Linked DNA regions of Homo sapiens: regions 1, 2 and 3 are each linked to region 4. Evidence: promoter capture Hi-C in 16 types of primary human blood cells and fetal thymus (Javierre and others, 2016). All regions are on one chromosome and are shown on one strand. The core of a region is centred on a gene start or on the middle of the fragment in contact, and the rest is flanking DNA. Distances in the headings are between cores, read along the strand shown. Region 1 overlaps CATSPER4 (cation channel sperm associated 4). Region 2 holds the start of LOC124903882 (a long non-coding RNA gene). Region 3 has its middle 17 kb from the start of FAM110D. Region 4 holds the start of ZNF683 (zinc finger protein 683).

Region 1 (2,538 bases), core at 39-2,538, 170 kb before region 4:
CTTAGGGACCAGCCATGTATCTGTAAGGGTCTTTGCTGTGTGTCTCTGAGACTGCATTTGGCTATTGACACATGTATGGGACAGAGAGTACACGTGTGTTTTGTGGCTTGTTTGGGGGGCGGCAGGGTAACAGCAGTGGATGGCAGCTGACTGGCCCTGCTCTGAGAGGGACATTGAGCCCTCATCCCTGGGATGTGGGGAGGGCAGACCTAGGATGCCCCCATGGGCTGGGCCTGACAGACCCCACTGGGGCTGGCCCACTCCCCAGGACGGCTGGAACATCCTCAACTTCATTATCGTCTTTATCTTGCTCTTGCGGTTCTTCATTAATGAAATCAATATTCCCTCCATCAACTACACTCTCAGGTGAGCGGGGAGCTCTGGAGAAATGAGGGGGACCTATCTGGAACCCAGGAATGAGATGGGGGGATAACGACCAGCTGGAGATCAGCTTTGCCTCTCTGGGCAGCTGGTGGGGGTAATGAGGAGGGAAGGGGCTGGGAAGGGCCTAGGGGCACCCCTGACAGGCTCTGCCACAGGGCGCTTCGTCTGGTGCATGTGTGCATGGCGGTGGAGCCCCTCGCCCGGATCATCCGCGTCATCCTGCAGTCGGTGCCTGACATGGCCAATATCATGGTCCTCATCCTCTTCTTCATGCTGGTCAGTGCCTGCCCCCGCCCCCAGCTGTTTCCCTTCCCTGAACAGGGCCCTTGGGTCATTGCAAATAGAGGGGTGTCTGGAAAAGCAGAGAGGCCTGTGGGCCTGAATCCCTGTGATTTCCTCAGCAGCGTTCATTTACATGACATTTGTGTGTCCTATTTCCAGGCCCTTTGGTGAAGTCGGGGTGGGGCTCTTTTCTCTCTGACAGGTTTTTTCCGTGTTTGGAGTAACACTCTTTGGTGCATTCGTGCCCAAGCATTTCCAGAACATACAGGTTGCGCTGTACACCCTCTTCATCTGCATCACCCAGGACGGCTGGGTGGACATCTACAGTGACTTCCAGTGAGTGCCAGTGGGACTTCCAGCCTCATCCCACCTATGGGGCAGGGTAGCCGGTGGAGCTCCAGGCTGAGAGTGGGAGCTCCAGGGATTGGGATGAGGATGGCCCAGTAGAAGTGGGGGTTCCCAGGTCTTTAAACAGAGGAAAAGGAAATACCTGGACTTGTGATACCTGAAGCCTTGTCACCCTTGAATCTCCATATATTCAGAGTCCCATTCCCACCCTGTAATGGGGACCTCTCCCATCATGCTAACCAGCTGGGTAGTTGGCCTTGGATAAGGCAGCAGGTCTGCAGTTATGCCTCAGGTTACAGAGCAACCTCCCAGCCCACCTTGGAGCCCACCAAACTGCCTGAACTCCTGGGAACTTCAGGTCTCATTTCATTCATTCTTAAACCCACTGCCCACATTCATTTTTGTGTTCTGTTCTTTACCTCTTTTCTATTAAGTCTAAGCCCTATTTCTTTCCAGTTTATTCCAGAAAGTGGGACCCCTTAACTGATTTCTTTTTATCTTCTACATGTGAGTATAGAAGCCCAGTAGATAAAGGGCTTCTACAGTCATTCTCCATTATGGCATAGGTAGTGGATAAAAATCAGGCTGGCCGGGGCCGGGCGCGGTGGCTCACGCCTGTAATCCCAGCACCTTGGGAGGCCGAGGTGGGCAGCTCACGAGGTCAGATCAAGGCTATCCTGGCTAACACAGTGAAACCCCATCTCTACTAAAAATACAAAAACAAAGCCCAGTGCAGTGGCTCACACCTGTAATCCCAGCACTTTGGGAGGCTGAGGCAGGTGGATCACAAGGTCAGGAGTTCAAGACCAGCCTGGCCAAAAAGGTGAAACCCCGTCTCTACTAAATATACAAAAATTAGCCGGACGGTGGGGCGCCTGTAATCCCAGCTACTCAGGAGGCTAAGGCAGGAGAATCGCTTGAACCTGGGAGGCGGAGGTTGCGGTGAACCCATATCACGCCACTGCACTCCAGCTTAGGTGACAGAGTGAGACTCTGTCTCAAAAAAAAAAAAAAAAAATTAGCCAGGCGTGGTGGCAAGCACCTGTAGTCTCAGCTACTTGGGAGGCTGAGGCGGGAGAACGACATGAACCCAGGAGGTGGAGCTTGCAGTGAGCCGAGATCACGCCACTTCACTCCAGTCTGGGCAACACAGCGAGACTCCATCTCAAAAAAAAAAAAAGGAGTGTAGCTAATAGATTAAACTTAATAGTGTTGATGTGCACGTCCCCACCTTGCAGGGTTGGTTAGAGAATCAGCTCACTGTCTGGCAGCACAGTAGGTGCTTAGTAGAGAGCAGCTATTGAGACAGGAGTAGGGAATGGGATCTGCACAACAGCAGTGACACAGGCAGAAGTTCTAGTAGGCCTTGGGATGATTTTCCCATTTCAATGACAAGGAAACTCAGGCTTGAAGGGCCAGGGAAATGATGGGGCCCCTGCCTGCCATCTGCAGGACAGAGAAGAGGGAATATGCAATGGAGATTGGGGGTGCCATCTACTTTACCATCTTCATCACCATCGGTGC
Region 2 (3,793 bases), core at 1,017-3,516, 150 kb before region 4:
ATAAGTAAATTAAGGCTCAGAGATTAAAGCCTGCCCAAGATCTTGCAGCCAACAAATAACATGCATTTCTTTTATTCTTTGCTCAATTACTGAGGGCCTACAATGATAAAACTAAAAAACAAAGACACAACATTTCAGAGTGCTATATATATGCTATATATTGGACATTCATTATATTTAGTAGCTAATAATATCTAATACTGACATAGCATTGACTCTATGCCAGACACAGTTTGAATCACTTCACATATATTAACTCATTTAAGCCTCACAACACACTCTATGAGATAGTTATATTTTCTTTTCTTCTTTTTTTTGAGATGGAGTCTCGCTCTGTCACCCAGGCTGGAGTGAAGTGGCACGATCTCGGCTCACTGCCACCTCTGCCTCCCAGGTTCAAGCAATTCTCCTGTCTCAGCCTCCGGAGTAGCTGGGACTACAGGCACCGGCCATCACACCTGGCTAATTTTTGTATTTTTAGTAGATATGGGGTTTCACCATATTGGCCAGGCTGGTCTCAAACTTTTGACCTCAGGTGATCCACCCGCCTCAGCCTCCCAAAGTGCTGGGATTACAGGCGTGAGCCACCGCGCCCGGCCGAGATAGTTATATTTTCATTCCCACTTTATAGAGAAACTGAGGCTCAGTTCACACAATAAGTTGCAGATCTTGCTAAGTGTTGGGAACACAGAGACAGTAAATTCAAGTTCGTCCTCAACGTTCTTGGGAAGGAGTTGGGTCTCCTGACTTCTAGGTCATATTTTAGTAACAAGGCTTCACAGAGCACAGGGAATCATTTATTACCTTATTTATTCCTCCAAACAACCCTATGAAGTATTATTTCCCCCACTGTACAGCTGACAGAACAAGAGAAGACTCTGAGTTTAGGGGACTTCAACCAGGACACACCATCAGTCTCCAGAGTCCAGGCTCTGAAACACACCACGGCCAAACCTGTCCTCGCCTGTCATTCCTCCCTTGTCAGGAGGATATAGAACCCAGTGATTAAGGGTGTGGGCGGGCGCTGGGGCCAGGCTGCTCCCTGCAGAACCTTGGGCAACGCTCTTTGAACCTCAGTTTGAGCCTCAGTTTCCTCATCTTTAAAAAAGGGGTGGTGGGGGGCAAAAGTATTGTCTTCTTCACGGGTTCGGTGAGGATGAAATGAAACAATCCATGTAAAGTTCTCAGCATGAAACCAGCATCTGCACCTATACAAGCAAACGTAAAAAGTGGGCAACGGTGCTCGGTGTTCATCCATCGGCACCGCGGGCCCCTGACGCTGCCTCTCCCCACAGCTGCCCCGTCAGCAACCGGCTGCTCCAGGGCCTGCGGGCCAACGGGGCCTCTCTGGAGGTGACCTTGGCCTTCAACCTGATCCGCTTCTCGACCAGCGATACACTGTACCTGCACGGCCGAGTGACCCTGTGTGACACGCGGGCAAGACGCCCATGCCAACCAGTGAGTGGGCAGCCCCGGGACCTCCTGCGCAGCCGCCGCAGCCTTGCCTGCAAAGCAGTTCCTGCCGGGCAGGCTGGGTAGCCGGACTCCCAGCTGCGCCGTCTTCACGGAAGCGGTGCTGATGCGGGACCTGGGGGACTGCGGTGCTGGGGACTGGCCAGTCCTACCGGGGGCGGGGCTTGTGGAAGACTGGGCGGGATTTTGAAGACCTAGGTCTTGTGGATGGTGAACTCACTTGGGGCGGGGAGGGAGGTGGGGCTACCCTGGGGTCTTGGGCAAAGTCCTCGCCTGGCCGGCTTCGCTACCCTTGTGCTTGCGTTGCCCACAAGCTTGTAGTCAGAAGAACTCGCCTGGGAGGGATCGCTCCTGGGAGATCCGAACGCGGGAGGGCCTGGAGCGCGGCGGCAGCTGGATAGCATTCGGGCCCATCCGAATAAGCGGTAAATGGATCATTTCTGGGGCCTCCCTGACTCCTCTTCCAGAGCCTCCTACCGACCTGCTCTGTCCCCTCCTTCCTTCATGCCCTCCACTCTTCCCTAAATGCAAGTCTCCTCCCCAAGCCCATGTCCTCCTCGGCTTCCCCTCTGCTCTCCTCACCGGTCTCACTCAGTCAACTTCAAGTCTGAGCCTTCTCTGCCTGTCTCCTTCCATTCTCACCTTTCCTGTCACACCAGATCACTCTTCTCCCAGGCTGTCCCTCGTGCCAAACTTTTTTGGTAAATCTTCCTTAATGATCTAGAAACAGTCTCTCCCTTCTTTCTATTCCATAATGGTCCTTCAAAACCCCAACCCTCGCCGGGCGCGGTGGCTCACGCCTGTAATCCCAGCACTTTGGAAGGCCGAGGTGGGCGGATCATAAGGTCAGGAGATCGAGACCATCCTGGCTAACAAGGTGAAACACTATCTCTACTAAAAATACAGGAAAAAAAAAAAATTAGCCGGGCGTGGGGGCGGGCCCCTGTAGTCCCAGGTACTCGGGAGGCTGAGGCAGGAGAATGGCGTGAACCCGGGAGGCGGAGCTTGCAATGAGCCAAGATCTTGCCACTGCACTCCAGCCTGGGCGACAGAGCAAGACTCCGTCTCAAAAAGCAAAAACAAACAAAACAAAACAAAACAAAAACTCCAACCCTCTTGGGAAAGCCCATCTTCTACTAAGTCCATTCTTATTAGAGGCAGGAGGTCCATCATCACACCCTTCTGAATCTCAGTTTCAAAGAGACCAAGCCCTTTGCCCAGTCTTGATAAAATAATGGGAGAATGCTAGCCTTGTCCTGCCAGAATGGCACCTTAAGCTTGATCTCTCTTTCTATGTGGTTTCATAGTCCAATGCCTCCAGCAGCAGAAGCTCGGCAGGTTGGTACAAAGATATTGCTGTGATGAAGTTCTGATGGTTGCACCAGGGTCTGAGGATACACGCTGCTGGGTCTTGGCAGGTGCTGGTTTTGGATTTTGTTTCTGCTCCACTCTATACGAGCTGAGAGAAGTCAGTTAACCTTTTTTTTTTTCTTTCTTTTTTTTTTTTTTTTTTTTGAGACAGAGTCTCACTCTGATGCCCAGGCTGGAGTGCAGTGGCGTGATCTCAGCTCACTGCAACCTCTGCCCCCCGGGTTCAAGCCATTCTCCTGCCTCAGCCTCCCGAGTATCTGGGATTACAGGCACGCACCACCATGCCCAGCTAATTTTTGTACTTTAGTAGAGGGAGGGTTTCACCATGTTGGCCTGGCTGGTCTCGAACTCCTGACCCCAGACGATCTGCCTGCCTCAGCCTCCCAAAATGCTGGGATTATAGGTGTGAGCCATCATGCCCGGCAGTTAACTTATTTGAGTCTCAGCTTCTTGGGTCTCAACAGTACATGGCACTTGTCATTGTGGGGCTGGTGGTTTATCCTTCATCAGAACCTGAGTCTATCCAGAAATGATTGAAAATTCAAGATACAGGGGCAAGCAGGTAGGAGGTGAAAATTCAAGATACAGGCCAGGCAGTGGCTCACACTTGTAATCCCAGCATTTTGCGAGACCAAAGTGGGAGGAGTGGTTGGGGCCAGGAGTTTGACACCAGCCTGGACAACACAGCAAGATGCTGTCTCTATAAAAAATTTAAAAATTAGCTGGGCATCATGGCACATGCTTGTAATCCTAGCTACTTGAGAGGCTGAGGCAGAAGGATCGCTTGAGACCAGGAGTTTGAGGGTGCAGTGAACTATGATGGCGCCACCACACTCCAGCCTGGGAGACAGAGTGAGACCCTGTCTCTAAAAGAAAAAAGAAAATTCAAGATACAGAGCCAGACAGGTAACAAGGACAGGTGAAGGTGGCTGAGTAGGGTCCACACTGA
Region 3 (3,730 bases), core at 1,123-3,622, 230 kb before region 4:
CCTGTTGCCCAGGCTGGTCTCAAACTCTTGGACTCAAGTAATCCTCCCACTTCAACCTCCCAAAGTGCTAGAATTACAGGCATGAGCCACTGTGCCCAGCCTGTTAGATACCTTTAAAAGCGATTTTATTTGTAAGAATCCTCTCCCAGTTTGCAGATGAGATCTAAGAAACTAATAATGACACACGATATAGGAGAGAACAGTAACAAAAGCAAAACTGTACCAACCAATTTCTCTGTGCCAGGGACCACTTTGAGTGCCTTACATGCATCAACTCACATAATCCCCCACAACCCTGCAAGGTAGGTACCATTCTTCACCATTTTACAGATAAAGAAACAGAGGCACAGAGAGGTCAGATAACCCACCAAGGTCCGCAGAAAGTTTTAGAGCCAGGATGTGAAACACAGGGAGCCTTGGCCTTGGAGCTCATGATCTGAATCATCACAGACACAAGCACAGCTGCCTAGGTGGAAAACTGCTGGAAATGTGTGTTAGGAAAAAAGGTTGGATGAATAAAGGGTCTTCAAGACAAGCAGAAGAGGCCGGGCATGGTGGCTCACACCTGTAATCCCAGAACTTTGGGAGGCTGAGATGGGCGGATCACTTGAGGCCAGGAGTTCGAGACCAGCCTGGGCAACATGAGAAAGCCCCGTCTCTATGAAAAACGCAGGCCGGGCACAGTGACTCACACCTGTAATCCCAGCACTTGGGAGGGCAAGGCAAGCAGATCACCTGAGGTCAGGAGTTCAGCCTGGCCAACATGGTGAAACCCCGTCTCTACTAAAAATACAAAAATTAGCCGGGCATGGTGGCATGTGCCTGTAATCCCAGCTACTTGGGATCCTGAGGCAGGAGAATCACTTGAACCCAGGAGGCGGAGGTTGCAGTGAGCCAAGATCACACCACTGCATTTCAGCCTGGGCAACAGAACGAGACTGTCTGAAAAAAAAAAAGAAAGAAAGATAAAAAAAAAAGACAGGCAGAAAAATCTGAATTTGTGATCAAAGCTAAAAAATGAACGTGTCTTTTTGTTCAGCTTTTCTGCGCTGTAATATACAGCGGTCTTTATTGTAGGATCCATGGATAGATCTCAGAGAATCCCAAACCTCCTGAAGTTTTAGTGTCCTTGTATCAATGCACGTATTTCTGGGAAGATAGTCTAGAGTTTTTATCAGATTCTTAATGGCGGGGGGCAGTTCCTGTCCTCCAAGGGCTAAGAACATTGGAGTATGAATACCAATGGCTGAAGGCTCTGTTGAGCCACTTAGCTTTACTCTTGAAACTTGGAGCCAGGCCAGGCGCGGTGGCTCACCTTGTAATCCCAGCACTTTGGAAGGCCGAGGTGGGCGGATCACGAGGTCAGGAGATGGAGACCACGGTGAAACCCCATCTCTACTAAAAATACAAAAAATTAGCTGGGCGTGGTGGCGGGTGCCTGTAGTCCCAGCTACTCGGAGAGGCTGAGGCAGGAGAATGGCATGAACCCGGGAGGCGGAGCTTGCAGTGAGCCGAGATCGTGCCACTGCACTCCAGCCTGGGCGACAGAGCGAGACTCCGTCTCAAAAAAAAAAAAAAAAAAAAACTTGGAGCCTATGTTTCTTCATCTGTAAAACAGGAATAATAATATCTACCTTCATGAGTTGCAAAAATTAAATTATGTTATTATTATAAATCATAATATGCACAAGCCATACTGTATGAAACTCAAATTAAAATGTGCAAAGACTATAAAATATCATAAAACAAATGTGAGTTATGACAATGAAATCTGTGTTTTAATATTTTCCCAGTAGCCGGGTGTGATGGTTCATGCCTGTAATCCCAGCACTTTGGAAGGCCGAGGCGGGCGGATCACCTGAGGTCAGGAGTTCAAGACCAGCCTGGTCAACATGGTGAAACTCAGTCTCTACTAAAAATACAAAAATTAGCCAGGTGTGGTGGCAGGCGCCTGTAATCACAGCTACTTGGGAGACTGCGGCAGGAGAATCGCTTGAACCCGGGAGGCAGAGGTTGCAGTGAGCCGAGATCGTGCCACTGCACTGCAACCTGGGGGACAAGAGTGAGACTTCGTCTCAAAAAAAAGAAAAAAATTTCCCAGTAATATGATGAATTAGATACCCGAGTGATCCTTCTGATGATAAAAAACTAAATTATTGTATAAAGTTTTTAATTTTTTTTATTATGTTGCTGAGCTGCATGAAAGTAAGAAATAAGCCCCAAAATGAAGTGAAACCAGGAACTATGGAAAAAGGAAAGTAAATACCAACATCGTGTTTAACCCTCAGGATGCCTGCCAAACCCCAGAGACCTTAACATCCTCCTTTCATGTTTGCATAGGATACCTGGGGGACAGGAGATAAATCCCAAGGCTTCTCCAAAATGGGAACTCTTAATAGGAGACCCCGGAGGGTCATAACTACAGTGTAAGAGCTAAGGTAAAATAAATCGGCTGGGCGTGGTGGCTCACGCTTGTAATCCCCGCACTTTGGGAGGCTGAGGCAGGCAGATTGCTTGAGCTTACAAGTTGGAGACCAGCCCGGGCAACATGATGAAACTCCTTCTCTCCAAAAACTATAAAAAATTAGCTGGGTGTGATGGCGTGTGTCCACCAGGAGGCTGAGGTGGGAGGATGGTTTGAGCCCAGGAGGCAGAGGTTGCAGTGCGCTAAGATCATGCCACTGCACTCCAGCCTGGGCAATAGAGCCAGACTTTGTCTCAGAAAATAAATAAATAAATAAATAAATAAATAAACCATAGCGCTCAGATGGGAGGTCCAATGAAATCTTCCTATATCAACTCTGGCCCTGGAAAGAGAAGAAAATAAAATCACCTTTAAGAATTCATAGCTTTTGGCTAGGCGCGGTGTCTCAAGCCTGCAATCCCAGTACTTTGGGAGGCCGAGGCGGGCGGATCATGAAGTCAGGAGATCAAGACCATCCTGGGTAACATAGCGAAACCCTGTCACTACTGAAAAAAAAACAAAAATTAGCTGGGTGTGGTGGCATGTGCCTGTAATCCCAGCTACTCGGGAGGCTGAGGCAAGAGAATCGCTTGAACCCGGGAGGCGGAGGTTGCGGTGAGCTGAGATTGTGTCACTGCACTCCAGCCTGGTGACAAAGCTAGACTCTGTCTCAAAAAAAAAAAAAAAAAAGAATTCATAACTTTTGGCTGGATGCAGTGGCTCATGCCTATAATCCCAGCACTTTGGGAGGCTGAGGCAGACGGATCACCTGAGTTCAGGAGTTCAAGACCAGCCTGGCCAACATGGTGAAACCCCACCTCTACCAAAAATACAAAAATTAGCCGGGAGTGATGGTGCACACCTGTAGTCCCAGCTACTTGGGAGGCTGAGGCAGGAGAATCGCTTGAACTCGGGAGGCAGAGTTTGCAGTGAACTGAGCTCACACCACTGCACTCCAGCCTGGGTGACAGAGCAAGACTCCATCTCAAAAAAAAAAAAAAAAAAAAAACTTCATAACTTTCCAAGAAACAAAGAGTTCATAACTTTCAAGCCAGCTCTCTCATGAAATCCCAAGTCAAATCATATTACTATGTAATCCTAAAATCCTCAGAGAATTTAAAATTTAAAGTGATATGAGTTGGTAGTACTAGCACATTATTGACAGAAATCATTTCAAATTGTCTCTGAAGAAACTCAACTTCAACACAAGTCTAAAATAATTCCCACAGATTTCCAAACAACATGAGCAGCTAGTGACAAAAAATA
Region 4 (4,206 bases), core at 359-2,858:
GAACAGGCAACATAGAAGGATATGGAATGAGACAGAGGACAGAGAAGGCAGCTGATCTCACAGAGATACAGCAAACACGTTTTCCTCCTCCAAGTCCCATCTCAGATCTCCTGACCCTGGAAAGTTCTATCCTCTAATCTAGAGGCCCCAAGAGGCAAAAGATAATTCAAGCACATGGCCAGGTGAAGTGGCTCACATCTGTAATCCCAGCACTTCAGGAGACCAAGGCAGACCCATCTCTTGAGCCCAGGAGTTTGAGATCAGCCTGGGCAACAAAGCAAGACCTCATCTCTACAAAAAATACAAAACTTAGCTGGGCATGGTGACTTGCACCTCTGGTCCCAGCTACTCAGGAGGCTGAGGCAGGAGGATCACTTGAGCCCAGGAATATAAGGCTGCAGTGAACTAGGATATTGCCACTGCACTCTAGCCTGGGTGACAGAGAAAGACCCTGTCTCTTTAAAAAAAAAAAAAATAGACATAGCAAAATGGGTGTAAGGCATGACTAGGCCAGGTGTGGTGGCTCACATCTGTAATCCCAGCACTTTGGGAGGCTGAGGTGGGCCAACTGCTTGAGCCCAGGAGTTCAAGACCAGCATGAGCAACATGGTGAAACACCATCTCTACAAAAAATACAAAAATTAGCCAGGCATGGTAGCGCATGCCTGTTGTTCCAGCTACTCAGGAGGCTGAGGTGGGAGGATCACTTGAGCCAGGGAGGTCGAGACTGCAGTGAGCTGAGATCATGCCACTGCACTCCAGCCTGGGTGACAGAGCGAGACCCTGTCTTAAAAAAAGTTAATAAATAAGGAAAAGACATGTCTAGATACAAAAAGGGAGACCTCATAGGCCAGAAAGTGGCTTTTTAGCCTGAGCAATGTCATTATTCTTGTGAGCATGAGAAGAGGCATCACCCCTGCGGCCTTACACAAATTCTGGTGTGCGTGAGTCTGGCCCAGGGTGCAAAAGCCCCAACCAGCCATCAATCTGCACCCCAGCCACGCCACCCTGGTGTCCCAGAATATACAGGGACATCTCAGGCTGTGCACCATGGGCTGGGGCATGTTCCTGGGGTTTCTCTGCCAGCTCAGCCCCTAGGGCTGTGACTCATCCTCCACATAACTGATCCCAACATGTTTGTGAGCATCTCAAGGACAGGGTCCTCTGTCTACTCATTTTGGTTTTCCATGTAGACATCTGTCAGGTTTTTTTGGACGCCCAGCCTCTGAAACTTTTCCCCTACATGAGTCTTGAGGGAGGCAAAAGGTACCTCCCATTATAAAAGCCGAAATGGCCAAATACTTAATTCCAACCTCCCTCACCAGCACTTCATGCAGGCATACATGGACTAGGTCGATCAGATGTCCCCACCCAGAAGGGGTGACCCGCACACCTTTGGCTTCCATCTGCCAGCTCTGCCCTCTCCTGGCATCACACTCTGCTCCCAACTCTCAGAACACCTTGCACAACTTCTCTGTTAGAAAAAAATAAAAACTACTTCCCCTCTATCCGCACTTCCCAACCTACTCTGGTGATCATGGGCTTTCCTTGGCTTGGGTCTCTGGTCTGGGTCAAGGCATCTGCTCAGGTTCCTCAGTTAGAAGACCATGGTCCTCCCTTTGTGCTACCTCCCCAGGGCATGTGGGACAAAGTGACATCACATTTAGGCCTGTGACATCACAGGGCATGGAGGCTGACAAGACAGATGATCTGGGAGACGAGAGCAAGGAAGGGCTTGGCAGGCAGAGGCTGCTCCATGTGGGAACCTGAGGGAGTCTGTCTTAGCCCACCTCCTGGGACATTTCCTTGCCAAGCCGAGTCTTGTGAGCATGAGAAGAGGCATAACCCCTGTGGCCTCACACAAATTCTGGTGTGCGTGAGTCTGGCCCAGGGTACAAAAGCCCCAAGCAGCCATTAATCTCCACTGCAGCCCAGTAGACTAGCAGATCAGAAGCTAGTGCCACTGGCTGAGCGCAGTGGCTCACGCCTGTAATCCCAGGACTTTGGGAGGCCGAGGCGGGCAGATCACTTGAGGTCAGGAGTTCAAGACCAGCCTGGCCAACATGGTGGGACCCCATCTCTACAAAAATACAAAAATTAGCCAAGTGTGGTGGCACGTGCCTGTATTTCCAGCTACTTGGGAGACTGAGGCAGGAGAATTGCTTGAACCCGGGAGGCGGAGGTTGCAGTGAGCTGAGATGGCTCTGCTACACTCCAGGCTGGGCAACAGAGTGAGGCTCCATCTCAAAATAAAATAAAATACAATAAAAAAAGCCACTGGTCCTGAGGTGGCAGGTCTGTGGAAACTCCTCTCTACAACAAAGGCTGTGGTACCACATCCGGCTTCCAGGGCAGTGAAGGAAAGAAGGGGGTTCAGGGGAGGCTGCAGAATCTGTGCAGGGCTGGTCCTGGGGTGTGATATTTGGCCATGGTCCTGTCTACTTCCAGCCTCCCTTGATCCATCCTATTCTCCAAGCCTTGCTCTCCAGCCTTCTCAGACCTCCTGCGAGCTTTTCTAACATCTTTTAAACAAATTCCTTCTGCTTAACTCCTCCTGAAATGGTTTTTGTAGCTTACAACTGATAATTCTGCATTATACATGCCCAGAATAGAAGATAAAGTAACAGGGTTCCAGCTGGAATTGTCCAAGGAACAGAGTAAATAGCCACCTTTACAAACAGCTTTCTTGCTGTGTCTGGCACTGTGCTAGGGGCTTCATAAACTTTATCTCATTTAGTCTTCACAATAAGCCTGTGTGGTGGATTTTATTATTAGCAGCTCATCCAGAGTCACACAACAAGTAGCCAAGAGCTCTTTAGTGGTAAACCTCAGACTCTGCCATCTCTTGGCCATGTCAGCTTCCCCCACTACGACAGCCACCCCCTCATTTCTTTCTTTCTTGCTCTCTCTTCCCACATGCTGTTCCCAGTCCTTCCCCCAACTCCTCAGTGGCCCCCTCAGTATCCTTCAGCGTAATGGAGGGGCTTAGTTCACCAAAACTCTACTCCCTAAAAGGAAGAGCCCTCTCAGACCCCCAGGCCACAAGCCCGCCTCCCCTGCTGTCTTGCTGGGAATCACAGGGAAGTGAGGGGCACCGAGTGAAGTTTCCTCCCCTCCAAGGCACTTCCCCACACACCTTTGGCTTCCATCTGCCAGCTGTGCTCCCTCCTGGCATCACACTCTGCTCCCAGCTCTCAGAACACTTTGCACAACCTCTCTGTTAGAAAAAAATAAAAAAGGAAATGGCCTTGGAGATTTCCAGGTCTCCAATCCTGAAAGCTCCCTGGCTTGGCTAGGAAATGCCCCAGGAGGTGGGCTGAGGACAGACTCCCTCAGGTTCCCACGTGGAGAAGCCTCTGCCTGCCAAGCCCTTCCTTGCTGTCATCTCCCAGATCATCTGTCTTGTGTCATCCATGCCCTGTGATGTCACAGGCCTAAATGTGATGTCACTTTGTCCCACATGCCCTGGGGAGGTAGCACAGAGGGAGGACCATGGTCTTCTAACTGAGGAACCTGAGCAGATGCCTTGACCCAGACCAGAGACCCAAGCCAAGGAAAGCCCATGATCACCAGAGTGGGTTTGGGAAGTGCGGACAGAGGGGGAGTAGGGAGCTGACTCCAGGTGCAAGGGGCACATTCGGGAGGCCTCTGAAGAGGAGGTGCCTCCACATTAGGGGACAAGAGCTGGAGGGGCTGGGTCCTTGGGCTCCCGGTGCTCACTGCACACTTTCTTCTTCCTTTCGTTAGTTGCAAAATAATACATACTAGTGGTAAACATTTCAAACAACAGAAAATGTAAAAACGAAAAATGGAAGCTCCTCCTCCTTCGCAATTTCCCAGTGGTCAATGTGAATTGTTTAGTGTTTACCCTTCCAGACATTTTTCTATGAACCAACAAACAGGTAAATTGATTTTTTTAATTGCTTTTTTTTTTCCTAAGGAATGAAGTGACTTATTGAAAATGAAAGTACACTCTGCAGTGTGGGAGCAGGCCTGAGCATAGGGGCTCAAAGGCCCCATTACAGAGTTTTTGAGAGTTTAAATACCTTCTGCTTGTGGTACGCCCTATGTAAATGAAGAGAATGAAGTAAAGTTACAATGTCATGTACTCAGGGAGAAGCTATTTCCTGTCAGAGCTGAAGTGTGAATTGGCCTTATGTTTCCTGCCTCCAGCCCCTATTTTCCTGCCTCATCTCCCCGCTAAGA

Evidence for each region. Contacts are between HindIII fragments. The CHiCAGO score rates a contact against its expected background, and 5 or more counts as called.
Region 1: a contact is called between a fragment that was not itself captured here and the fragment with the promoter of ZNF683 in region 4, in 3 of 17 cell types (M0 macrophages, M2 macrophages and monocytes). The highest score is 6.3, in M0 macrophages.
Region 2: a contact is called between a fragment that was not itself captured here and the fragment with the promoter of ZNF683 in region 4, in 2 of 17 cell types (M0 macrophages and M1 macrophages). The highest score is 5.4, in M0 macrophages.
Region 3: a contact is called between a fragment that was not itself captured here and the fragment with the promoter of ZNF683 in region 4, in 3 of 17 cell types (naive B cells, M2 macrophages and M0 macrophages). The highest score is 7.8, in naive B cells.

The regions. Positions count from the first base shown.
Region 1 is chr1:26,197,418-26,199,955 of GRCh38, forward strand. It overlaps CATSPER4 (cation channel sperm associated 4), which reads left to right. Exons shown (of 10, transcript NM_198137.2): 4 at 269-366; 5 at 540-660; 6 at 869-1,002; 7 at 2,467-2,538. Among named protein-coding and RNA genes, the nearest start is that of CATSPER4, 8.1 kb to the left of the region's middle. RefSeq lists an enhancer at 555-1,054. The HindIII fragment of the contact is 8,937 bases long and covers 1-2,538 here.
Region 2 is chr1:26,223,806-26,227,598 of GRCh38, forward strand. LOC124903882 (a long non-coding RNA gene) reads right to left here and starts at 1,492. Exons shown (of 2, transcript XR_007065556.1): 1 at 1,405-1,492; 2 at 794-1,208. It also overlaps the pseudogene ZPLD2P. RefSeq lists enhancers at 841-1,346, 1,347-1,851, 1,358-1,417. The HindIII fragment of the contact is 963 bases long and covers 1,786-2,748 here.
Region 3 is chr1:26,139,746-26,143,475 of GRCh38, forward strand. No RefSeq gene overlaps it. Among named protein-coding and RNA genes, the nearest start is that of FAM110D, 17 kb to the right of the region's middle. The HindIII fragment of the contact is 6,302 bases long and covers 1-3,730 here.
Region 4 is chr1:26,371,142-26,375,347 of GRCh38, forward strand. It overlaps ZNF683 (zinc finger protein 683), which reads right to left and starts at 1,609. Exons shown (of 6, transcript NM_001114759.3): 1 at 1,528-1,609. The HindIII fragment of the contact is 11,410 bases long and covers 1-4,206 here.